4 separate regions of the Homo sapiens genome follow, and regions 2, 3 and 4 are each linked to region 1. The links are contacts of gene promoters, found by promoter capture Hi-C in blood cells and fetal thymus (Javierre and others, 2016). All regions are on one chromosome and are shown on one strand. Each heading gives the region's core, a stretch centred on a gene start or on the middle of the fragment in contact. The rest is flanking DNA. Distances are from core to core; before and after follow the strand shown.

Region 1 (2,700 bases), core at 70-2,569:
GCTATTAAATGGTCCAAAATATAAAGTACTAGAGTTGCCTTTGTTCTTGAAGAGCTTCACTCTGAATCATGTAACTGGTCTGGATGTGGTCTTTCAATAAGACAATAGCAGCAGCATAATAAGCCTCCGGGTCAGCATAGTAGCATAGTATTTGGTGTTACCTATTTTAGTAAGTTTATGTTTGGTTAACTCCTGTTGAGGAACAATATTATGATCAAAGAGATGATATGGTTTATTTATTAGATGAATCCTTGATGTCTTCATACTAATGTAAAGCTCTGTCACAGCCTGCTTTGATCTGCTGGTTCCTGGGTGTGGTATCCAGCTGTTTGTCAGCATCCCTCTCTATACCCATGGAAATCCCAACTGTATTTTTGGGTTTTGGGTTCCCTACCAGGTTCACTGTTTAAAAATGTGAATTGAATATTACTTTTTATTGAAAAGAACACAAGTTCTATGATGAGTTAAAATTACTATAAATGTTTATAGCTTATACTCATTGTATCAGATTATTTGAAAAATCTAGTTTGCATGTTCCCTTCTGATGGAGTTTGGGTCAGATGAAGGTGGTTACAAAAAATGTTTGACACTAAAAATTTTCACATTACACTATTGTTTGATAGTCATTCATTAATTCTTCACTTAGTCTACTTACTCATTAAGAATCAACAAATCTTTATTTTGGAGATGAATAAGATGTGTCCTTTACAGTGGGAAAGCTTATTATTTAATAGAGCTGTTTACAGACTTCAATTTGCCTTCTTGATAAATGTGATGAACATGGTTTACAATTTACAAAGATATTCAGGCTATCAGATCTTGGAATTGCAGAACTAAATTTTTCTGTATGTATTCTTATATGATTTTTTCCTAGGTATTTGGGGAAATAAATACTGTCTGATGGAGTAGATAGCTTTTTCATATTTTGTATCTGCGAATGCATATTATCAGCTGAGCTGACATGACTATGCAATTATAAAGAAGTATAAAGCACAGGCTATTAAATGGTCCAAAAGAAAGTAAGTACACCGCTCATAAATCTTTGAAATCATGGGAATGTTTCCAGACAGAACAAGATGGAATTTATCTTCCTAATTGTGACACAGTACCTTGAAAAATGCAACTGGGTGCGTGGAGATAAGGCTTTGTATAATTTGCCATTTTAAAAGTTCCCCTGTCAAATTCAAGGTATTAAGTTGCTTTATGGAAGGCTAAGACCAAGCCCTAGATGCAAGACCGGGGGAACTGACTGCCGGAACGTTTGTGTTGCAGCGCCTCGCCCCTTGCCGGTGCTCTTTCGCGAAGGGACCGTCTCTGCCAAGCGCCTGTTGGTAGGAACCTGCTTGGTCGCGTCTGAGGGGGCTTGTAGGTGGCTCTGGCTGAAACAGGCGCCTGCGAGAGTCTGTAGGAGGGAAACCGCCATGGACGATCAGGGTTGCCCTCGGTGTAAGACCACCAAATATCGGAACCCCTCCTTGAAGCTGATGGTGAATGTGTGCGGACACACTCTGTGAGTTGGGCGGCAGTGGATTCCCTGGGGGAGAGACGCGCTGGGTGGGAGGAGAGGACCGGGAGATGCTAGGCCTCGTCTTGGGAGCAAAGGGCGTTGTTAGTTTCAACACTGGGGAGGAAAATGGGAAAAGAAGGCGTTGTGACTTTAAATAGACTGTAGCCGCTAGCCCCGAGCGGCTCTGGCCTGCTTTGAACTGCGGGTTCTCAGTGTGGCATCCAGCAGTTTGTCAGGTTCCCCCTTCCATAGCCAATGAGTATCCCGACTGTATTTCCAGGCTTTGTGTTGTTTACTGGGCTCTGGACATCGCTGATTAAAAGCGTGGGGGATTGGAGTGTTTATTTCATATGAAATGTTTTTATTGAAAAAGTGCGAAAGTGCTATGAAAACTTAAAATTTGCTTGAGTATATACTGCTGCTATTTATTGTATGAGTTAATTAAAAAACCCTGTGTGTATGCCCACTTGTCCTGATGGAGTTCGGTTAGACTCCCATCACTAAAATGAAGAAAACCCGGACTGTAGGTAGTTAATTTTGAAGATATAATAATGGCTGGCATTTGAGTGCACATTTTGTGCCAGACAGTGTTCTAAGCGCCTTACCATGAATTATCTCAGTTCATTCCTACAACAGTCCCATGAAGTAGATACTGGTATTTCCATTTCACAGGGAAGGAAATCGAGACTGCTCAAGGTCCCTTATTAAGTGGGCCTTGAGAGAATTGGAACCCAGGAAGTCTGACTTTAGAACGCCCATTTTCAGGGGAAGGGGGCAGAAGGAGGGAGGTTGAGTTTGTGTATTTTGAAACAGGGATTGGTCAAAGTGTTTCTTGCCAGATTTCTTGTCAGATGTGGTTTAGTGAAGGTGGTTCTAGAAAGCACTTTGAGATAAAAAGGTGCCATGTAATGGCGAGCATATATTCCTGTAGTTTCTTTCAGGTTTATTGGAGGCAAAAAATAATGGATAATCTACAGTGTGTAGACAAGGTCTCCTCCCAACCCCCCAAGTGCTGACAAAAATGTAGAGCAATGACAGGGTCTTTAGGTAAGCATAAATTGCATGATTAGCTGTAGCTATAATTATTATATGGAATTTATTAGCTTACTTAACTTTTCTAATTGATCTTTATTTTCCTTTGCTTTACTCTGCAAAGAAGTATAGTAGAGCTGTGATTGAATGATTTAAGATTA
Region 2 (2,700 bases), core at 166-2,665, 200 kb after region 1:
TGTAAGTAGTTCAGTCTGACTGGAGCACAGGGTTTGTAACATAAAGTGACAAGAAACTAGTTAGGATCAAATCATGAAGAATCTTATTTATCATATTAAGTATTTTGAGTAATACTCCTTTCCCCCTTTTTGTTCCTGTGTGTCTTAAATCAAGGTTGAAAACCACTGCTATCTCAGTAACTAGGCTCTGAACCATACACTCTTAGTAATAGGTAGCTATGGAAGACGTTTAAATAATTGAGATATTCAGATTTATATTTTAGAAAAAATACTTCTGAAGGCAGCAGTATGGATCATGTATTTGAGAAGCCTGAAGTAAAATAAAGTGCCAAAATAAGAGAGTTGTAAGCAGTGAGGATGGAGTTGAGGGAATGGATTTGAGACTGAAGGGATAGAATTGAAAGGACTTGGCCACTGACTTCAGGTGCAGGGTAAGGAATGAGTCTAGGAAAATTCCAAGGTTTTTGGCTTGAGTGTCTGGATGGCTCTGTGATGACTTTCATAGGGTTCAGGCTTCCTTCAGAGTTTTGCACAGCCTATAGAATATGCCACTTAGACACAAGTCTTTGTGTGAGAGCTGCAGCAGGGATCTGAATGATTAAGGCAGCTGCTCAGGCTTGCTTTCTCACTACTCACTTTTGTTGCCTGTGTCAGGGAAAGGCCAGGGAGAGAAATAATTGGGGACAGGGACTGCATTTATTCTGCTGCCAGAGAGTATGTGCAGCTGCCGCTTCCTTCTGATTCACCACTACCACTTGCCACAGCAGCTGGGCTGGACCAAAATAGGTAGACTGTAAAAGATTCTGTGATAACAAAGCCCATTGCAGCACTGGGTGTAACTTGAAATGTTTTTTATTCATATTTCTCTAACTTTTTTCTTATTTCAAAAATATGTCTGTAGATACATATCGTAGACCTGAATTGTATATTTAATATGTAAGACCCTTAATATTTTTGATTTAGTCAGTGTGGGAGAATAGTACTACTTACTTTAATGCATATATATATATGTGTGTATATATATGGTGTGTGTGTATATATCTATAACCTTTGACACTCTGAAAAGAGCTGCTTAATTGTCAAGGTAGAAGATTTTAAAAACATCCTCAAAGTTTTTTTTTAAAAAAACAATGGTGAATTAATTATATACTCCCTTAGATACTGAGCCTACTTTTTAAATTTTTTAATTCAGTCATTTTGAGAATTAAGTGTGTTATTTGTCCATTGAATTAAGTTTGTGTGTAAATATTTGCCATTTCTAGAATATTCATACTTCTTACTCTTACTAATTTTTTCTGATAAAAACTTCATATTATAAGGATGTTAGTTTTAATCAATTTTATATTATCAAGTTTTCTAGTATATGTCTTTAATTTTTGCTTGTACAAACCTATATATTAGGTTACATTAGAGTTCTGTTATCTTTTTTCTTATGTAAGTTTAGTCTAAAATAAGACTGACATACTAGTTTTTAATTCGCTCATATTTCTTAAATTTTTGTTTCATTTGTAGTATAAAATCACTTTTTTAGAGAATAATATTTAGTTTTTCTTCTATCCTTGTAAAACTACAGCAGCCTTAAATTATGCTATAGGTGTTCATTGTTGGTTCATCATAAAATAATTAACACTTGCATTCCAGAACTGTAATTCCACTTAGTACAGCATTTCATTTCATTTTTTTAAAAGAGGTTTCCATTTTTAGAAAATTTGGAGGTTTTTTCCCTCCTTTAAAGACATGGTTAAATAATGATTAATATAGTTCAAGAAACTGTCTTACGTGGAGTGTGCAGGTATTTCAGCTCTGTTTTTTTCTTTTCTTTATTCTTTAAATGTTAGATAGATTTTAGTTTACCACTTTAGAAAACTATTTTTAACTGTTTTTATATATTTATATATCTCATACTGAATGCCAGGTAAGAATTTTATTCTGCACTACTGACATTAATTCCCAATAGTTAAACATAATAGATGACCATACAGTTGTTATCTATTTCTTATCCTGTGCTCTAGGATTTATCATTTTTAAAGCTATGTGTTAGAGATCATACTTATTTCTGAATAGCTAAATATCAGTGTTTTTGCATCATAATTTGGTGTATACTGTGTTACATTTTCAGAAAATTTGATTTGATAAATATAACCATAATCTTAAAAACAAAACTTTGAAGATATATGAATCACTTTGTAAATAATAATAATATGCAGTACAGTGTAGGAGTTGAGAGAATTTTTGGAATTATATTGCCTGAGTTCAAATCTTGGCTGTTTTGCTTGGTTTATAACCCTAGGCAGGTAACCTACCTAACATTCTGTGTCTTTGTTTCCTCCTTTATGAAATGGAGATATCTAATGGGGTTGTTTTGAGTACTAAATGAGGTAATATATGGAAGAGCCTAGAATACTGACTGGTAGAATATTGAAGTATAATATAGAAAGTCCGGTCCCTTAGAATCTATTTGTATTATACTGATTTTAGGTCTATTGAGATTTTCTACCTTTCCTTTCTCTCCTTTTTTTCTTCTTCTAATTTGATCAATTAGGCATATCGACACAATGATAAATTGTTGTATTGCCGTTCTTCCGTATAATTTTGGCATTTAGTTCAGTGTAGCATTTATTTCCTAATTATTGAAATAAAAATTCAGTTTATCTTTAAGGAAGACTACTTGGTTTTCTGATGTTTTGAAGCAAACAAAGT
Region 3 (2,700 bases), core at 80-2,579, 170 kb after region 1:
AAGCCATTAGGAATATTTGTGCATTAGGAATATTTGTGATCCATGGGAGGAGGTCAGAATATCAGCATTATCAGGAATTTGAAAGAAGTTAATTCCAACCCCATGTTTGAGATTTTGTTGGAAGAAGTAACCGCAAATGGGGTGAAAATAGCAAGAAAACTAGAATTAGCCGTGGAGACTGAAGATATGACTGAATTACTACAGTCTTATAATAAAACTTGAACAAATGAGAAACTGACTCTCAGGGATGAGTAAAGAAAGTGGTTTCTTGAGATGGAATCTGCTCCTGGTGAAGATGCTGTGAACATTGTTGAAATGACAACAAAAGATTTAGAATATTATATAAACTGAGCTGATAAAGCAGTGATAGGGTTTGAGAGGATTGCCTCTAATTTTTAAAGAAGTTCTGCTGTAAGTAAAATGCTATTAAACAGCATTATGTGCTACAGAGAAATCTTTTGTGAAAGGAAGAGTCAATCAACGCAGCAAACTTTATTATTGTCTTATTTTAAGAAATTGCTATGACCTCCCCAGTCTTCAGCAACCACCATTGTGATCAGTAAAGCAGATATCAACATCCAGGCAAGAGCTTTCATCAGCAAAAAGATTAGGACTAGCCGATGGCCCAGAGGATCATTATCATTTTTCATTAATACATAATCTATTTATTTGGGATTTTAACTACATTTGCAAAATCATTTTTTATATATAATATAATCACAGCAATGAAGACTGTCAAATTGATGGTCCTATTTATACCCAAGGACTGAGAATTATGCAAGGAATGGATACAACGGGGTAGAATATTGAGGGCCATGTCTAAATTCTGCCTACTACAAGCGAGATAGGTTTTCTCTTGCTACTTATCTTTCTCAAAATATTCTAAGCATTTTTATACATTTATACTTTGAAGTAAACTTTGTTGGCAAAAGCAACAAAGCACTCCATAATTGTTTCAAAATTTGTGTACATTTGAAAATTTTTATAAAATACTGTGAATCAAGTAATGAAACATCAAAAGCCACCAACAACTTAGCTAATAAGATACATCCATCCCCCTATATAGTAATCAAACACCAATCCTTTTGGGATTGTACCTGGAATTTAAACTTACAATCTGATCAGAGAAGAATGGGCATTTAAAATATACTTAGTTTTTATATATATCACACATTTCTTGGAAATTAATTTTCATTATATTCTACTTTTGATGCTGTTGTGATAAAGTTTTCATCATGCTTTCTAACTGGTTCTTGCTGTTATATATGAAAACTATTAAATGTAATTTTCTACATAATATTTTACTGAATTCTAATAGTTTCTATACCTAGTTCTATTAGGTGAATATCTGGGTTTTTATCTAGGAGTCAGTCAGCTGAAAAAAAATTTTTTTTCTTTTCAATGCTATATTTGTGACTTTAGGTTTATATTTTATTGTATTTTGGCTAGAACTTGTAGAACTTTTAGACCAAGTATAATTCTAATAACTGTAGTTTCTTTCTGTTTTTTTTTCTGGTGAATGCCTCAAGTGTTTCATCATTAAGTATTATATTCGCTGTTTAAGTGTTTTTTTGTATCACATATATGTATTTTCTAAATCACAATGAAGGAATTGCATCATGAATATATATTAAATCTTCGTCTTCACATTTAATTTTATTGAATGCTTTTATGCATCTATTGATGTAGTTTTTGAACCTAATGGTGTATAATATTATTAAAAATTTTTTCAATAGCAAGTACTTCCTATATTCCTAGATAGCTACCTACCTAAAATAGCGTTTGGGAAAGGTAGAATTTCAGCTGAAAACTTCAAGTTCAGGAAATTTGTTTTAAATGGATTAGTTTACGTTCTACCAGTGAAAAATAATTGAGGCAATCTATAATACTTTAAAAATCTTAACACTTAAGAAATTTAAATTTAATCAGCTATATGAAAGCATAATTCACATACAATAAAATACCTATTTTATTGTATATTCCAATGAGTTTTGACAAACACATCCAGTTTGTAACCACCAGCACAGCCACGATATAGAATATTTGTATAATCTGCTTTCACTGTGATTGTGCTTTTTTCTGGAAATCACTTAGAATTTTTACATATGAAAGTGTTACTTATATTCCAAAATTTCCATGAGAGAATGTGGCATTCTGTATACTGCTTTTTGGTCATAGTCTTTACCTTCGTCTTTACCTTATAATATTGACTTATTATATATGGATTGTGTAAGAATGGTGAAAACGTAGTTGTTTCATTTAAGTTTTGTTTTGTTTTTGATGCTACCCATGTAAGTTTTTTTTTTTTTTTTTTTTTCTTTTTGATGGAGTTTCTCTCTGTCGCCTGGCTGGAGTGCAGTGGCACAATCTTGGCCTACTGCAACTTCTGCCTCCCACGTTCAAGCAATTCTCCTGCCTCAGCCTCCCGAGTAGCGGGGACTGCAGGCACCCGCCACCACATCTGACTGATTTTTGTATTTTTTAGTAGAGATGGGGTTTCACCATATTGGCCAGGCTGGTCTTGAACTCCTGACCTTGTGATCCACCCGCCTTGGCCTCCCAAAGTGCTGGGATTACAGGCGTGGGCCACTGTGCCCGACCTTAAGTTTATATGTTAGTTTTACAGAAAGTCTTGGGGCATCAGAAAATCAAAGAATGTGGAAAAATACAAAAATCACAAAAAAACTGCAATATGCATGT
Region 4 (2,700 bases), core at 88-2,587, 220 kb after region 1:
AATTTTTTGAGGAACTTCCGTACTGTTTTCCATGATGGCTTTACAATTTACATTCTCATTAACACTGTACTAGGGGTTCTCTGTTCTCCACACCCTTGCGAACCCTTGTTATATATTGCCTTTTTCATAGTAGCCATCCTAACAGGTGTGAGGTGATACCTCATTGTGATTTTAATTTGTTTTGCCTGGTGATTAGTGATGTTAAAGTTTTTTCACATACCTTTTGGCCATTTGTATGTCTTCCTTTGAGAAATGTCTATTCCAGTCATTTGCCCATTTTTTAATCAGGTTATTTGTTTTCTTGCTATCGAGTTGTTTGTGTTCTTTATATATTTTGTATATTAGCCCCTTTCTAGGTTCTCTGTTCTGTTCCATTGGTGTATACTGTTTTTATGCCAGTACCAGGCTGTTTTGATTACTTTAGCTTTGTAGTATACTTTGAGATCAGGTGATATTTACATGCCTCTTTGTTCATTTCCTTAAGCTTTATTTGCCTATTCAAGGTCTTTTGTTATTCCACATGAATTTTAGGATTCTTTTCTCTATTTCTGTGAAAAATGTCATAAGAATTTTGATAGAAAAATGTGATTAGAATTCAGTGATGGAATCATTGAATCTGTTGATCACTTTGGATTTTATGGACATTTTATCAATGTTAATTCTTCCATTCCATGAATAAGGAATATTTTTTCATTTACTTTTGTCTCCAATGTCTTTCATCAGAGTTTTATAGTTTTCAGTGTATAGATCTTCACCTCCTTGGTTAAATTTGTTTTTAAATTGTTGGGGTTTTTTGTTTTGTTTTTGTTTGTTTTGGTAGCTATTGTAAATGGGATTGTTTTCTTGATTTCTTCTTCAGACAGCTCCTTGTTAGTGTATGGAGGTGCTACTAATTTCTGTATGCTGATTTTGCATGCTGAAGCTTTACTGAATCAATTAGTTTCAACAGTTTTTTGGTGGAGTTGTTAGGGTTTTCTATAAATAAGATCATGTTATCTGCAAACAGAGACAATGTAACTTTTCCTATTTCTTCTTTTGCCTAATTGCTCTGGCTATAACTTCCAGTATTATGTTGAACAGAAATGGCAAGAGTGGGCATTCTTGGCTTATTCCTAATTTTAAAGGAAAAGCTTTCAACTTTTAACAGTTTAGTGTGATGTTAGCTATCGTATTTTATATATATATGGCCTTTATTGTGTTGAGGTACATTCCTTCTATATGTAATTTGTTGATAGTTTTTATCATGAAAGGACGTTGAATTTTGTTAAATGCTTTTTTTATATTTATTGAGATGATCATATGGTTTTTGTACATTATGTTAATGTGGTGTATCATTTTCATAGATTTCCATATGTTGCATCCCTGTGACAAATCCTACTTGATCATAGTGTATTGATTCTTTTAATATGCTGTTGATTTTGGTTTGCTAATATTTTGTTGAAGATTTTTACATCTGTGTTCATTATAGATATTAGACTGTAATAGTTCTTTTCTTTAATATCCTTGTTTGGCTTTTGTATTAGGGTAATGCAGGCCTCATAAAATAAGCTTGGAAGTATTGTCTCCTTTTCAGTTTTTAGAAAAATTTGAAGAAGGATTGGTATTAATTCTTTTTTGAACATTTAGGAGAATTCAGCAATGAAGCCATCAGGTTCTAAGCTTTTCTTTAATGACATTAAAAAAAAAATTATAGATTCAGGCCAGGTGTGGTGGCTCACACCTGTAATCCCAGCACTTTGGGAGGCCGAGACAGGTGAGTCACCTGAGGTCAGGAGTTGAAGACCAGCCTGGCCAACATGGTGAAACCCCATCTCTACTAAAAATACAAAAATCAGCTGGGCGTGGTGGTGGGTGCCTGTAATCCCAGCTACTGGGAGACTGAGGCAAGATAATTGCTTGAACCCAGGAGGCGGAGGTTGCAGTGAGCCAAGATCGCACCATTGCACTCAAACCTGGGCAACAAGAACAAAACTCTGTCTCTAAATAAATAAATAAATAAAAGATTCAATCTCCTTACTTTCTATTGGTTTGTTTACAATTTTTATTGCTTTATAATTCAGTCTTGGTAGGTTGTCTGTGTCTAGGAATTTATCCATTTTTTCTGAGTTCTCCAATTTATTGGTGTATAATTGTTTAGTGATTTTTTTCATACCTATGTGGCCTCAATTGTAATATCTCCTCCTTCATTTCTAATTTTATGTATTTGAGTCTTCTTTCTTTTTTCTTAGTTAATCTAGCTAAAGGTTTGTGAGTTTTATGTTTTTAAAAAAACCAACTTTTAGTTTCATTGATTTTTTTTCTTTCTATTGTATGTCTAATCTCTATTTTATTTCTACTCTGATCTTTATTTCCATCCTGACTGTAACTTTGGGCTTCCTTACACTAACTAGTTCTTTAAAGTGTAATATCAGGTTATTTGAGATTTTTTTTCTTTTTAAGTATTGTCTTTTATTAGTATAAATTTCTCAGGACTGCTTTGGCTACATACCATAAATTTTGGTGTGTTATGTTTACTTTTTCATTATTCTTAAGATATTTTTCTTGAGAATCAAAACTTCCCTTTTGATTTCTTCTTGAACCATTGATTGTTCATGAGTGTGTTGTTTAATTTCCACGTTTGTGAATTTTCTAGTTTTTCTTCTGTTACTGATTTCTAGTTTCATATCATTGTGGTTATAAAAATTACTCAATATGATTTCA

The links. The method cuts DNA at HindIII sites, captures the fragments that hold promoters and counts their contacts. A CHiCAGO score of 5 or more calls a contact.
Region 2: a fragment that was not itself captured here is called in contact with the fragment with the promoter of MNAT1 in region 1 in 1 of 17 cell types (endothelial precursors); the score reaches 5.4 in endothelial precursors.
Region 3: a fragment that was not itself captured here is called in contact with the fragment with the promoter of MNAT1 in region 1 in 1 of 17 cell types (endothelial precursors); the score reaches 5.2 in endothelial precursors.
Region 4: a fragment that was not itself captured here is called in contact with the fragment with the promoter of MNAT1 in region 1 in 1 of 17 cell types (endothelial precursors); the score reaches 7.9 in endothelial precursors.

What each region holds. Positions count from the first base shown.
Region 1 is chr14:60,733,442-60,736,141 of GRCh38, forward strand. It overlaps MNAT1 (MNAT1 component of CDK activating kinase), which reads left to right and starts at 1,320. Exons shown (of 8, transcript NM_002431.4): 1 at 1,320-1,510. The coding sequence starts at 1,422. RefSeq lists enhancers at 1,334-1,433, 1,544-1,613. The HindIII fragment of the contact is 2,495 bases long and covers 718-2,700 here.
Region 2 is chr14:60,930,739-60,933,438 of GRCh38, forward strand. The region is part of intron 7 of MNAT1 (MNAT1 component of CDK activating kinase); the gene reads left to right. Among named protein-coding and RNA genes, the nearest start is that of TRMT5, 49 kb to the right of the region's middle. The HindIII fragment of the contact is 3,764 bases long and covers 1-2,700 here.
Region 3 is chr14:60,901,570-60,904,269 of GRCh38, forward strand. All of the region lies in intron 7 of MNAT1 (MNAT1 component of CDK activating kinase), which reads left to right. Among named protein-coding and RNA genes, the nearest start is that of TRMT5, 78 kb to the right of the region's middle. The HindIII fragment of the contact is 4,594 bases long and covers 1-2,700 here.
Region 4 is chr14:60,953,682-60,956,381 of GRCh38, forward strand. The region is part of intron 7 of MNAT1 (MNAT1 component of CDK activating kinase); the gene reads left to right. Among named protein-coding and RNA genes, the nearest start is that of TRMT5, 26 kb to the right of the region's middle. The HindIII fragment of the contact is 418 bases long and covers 1,129-1,546 here.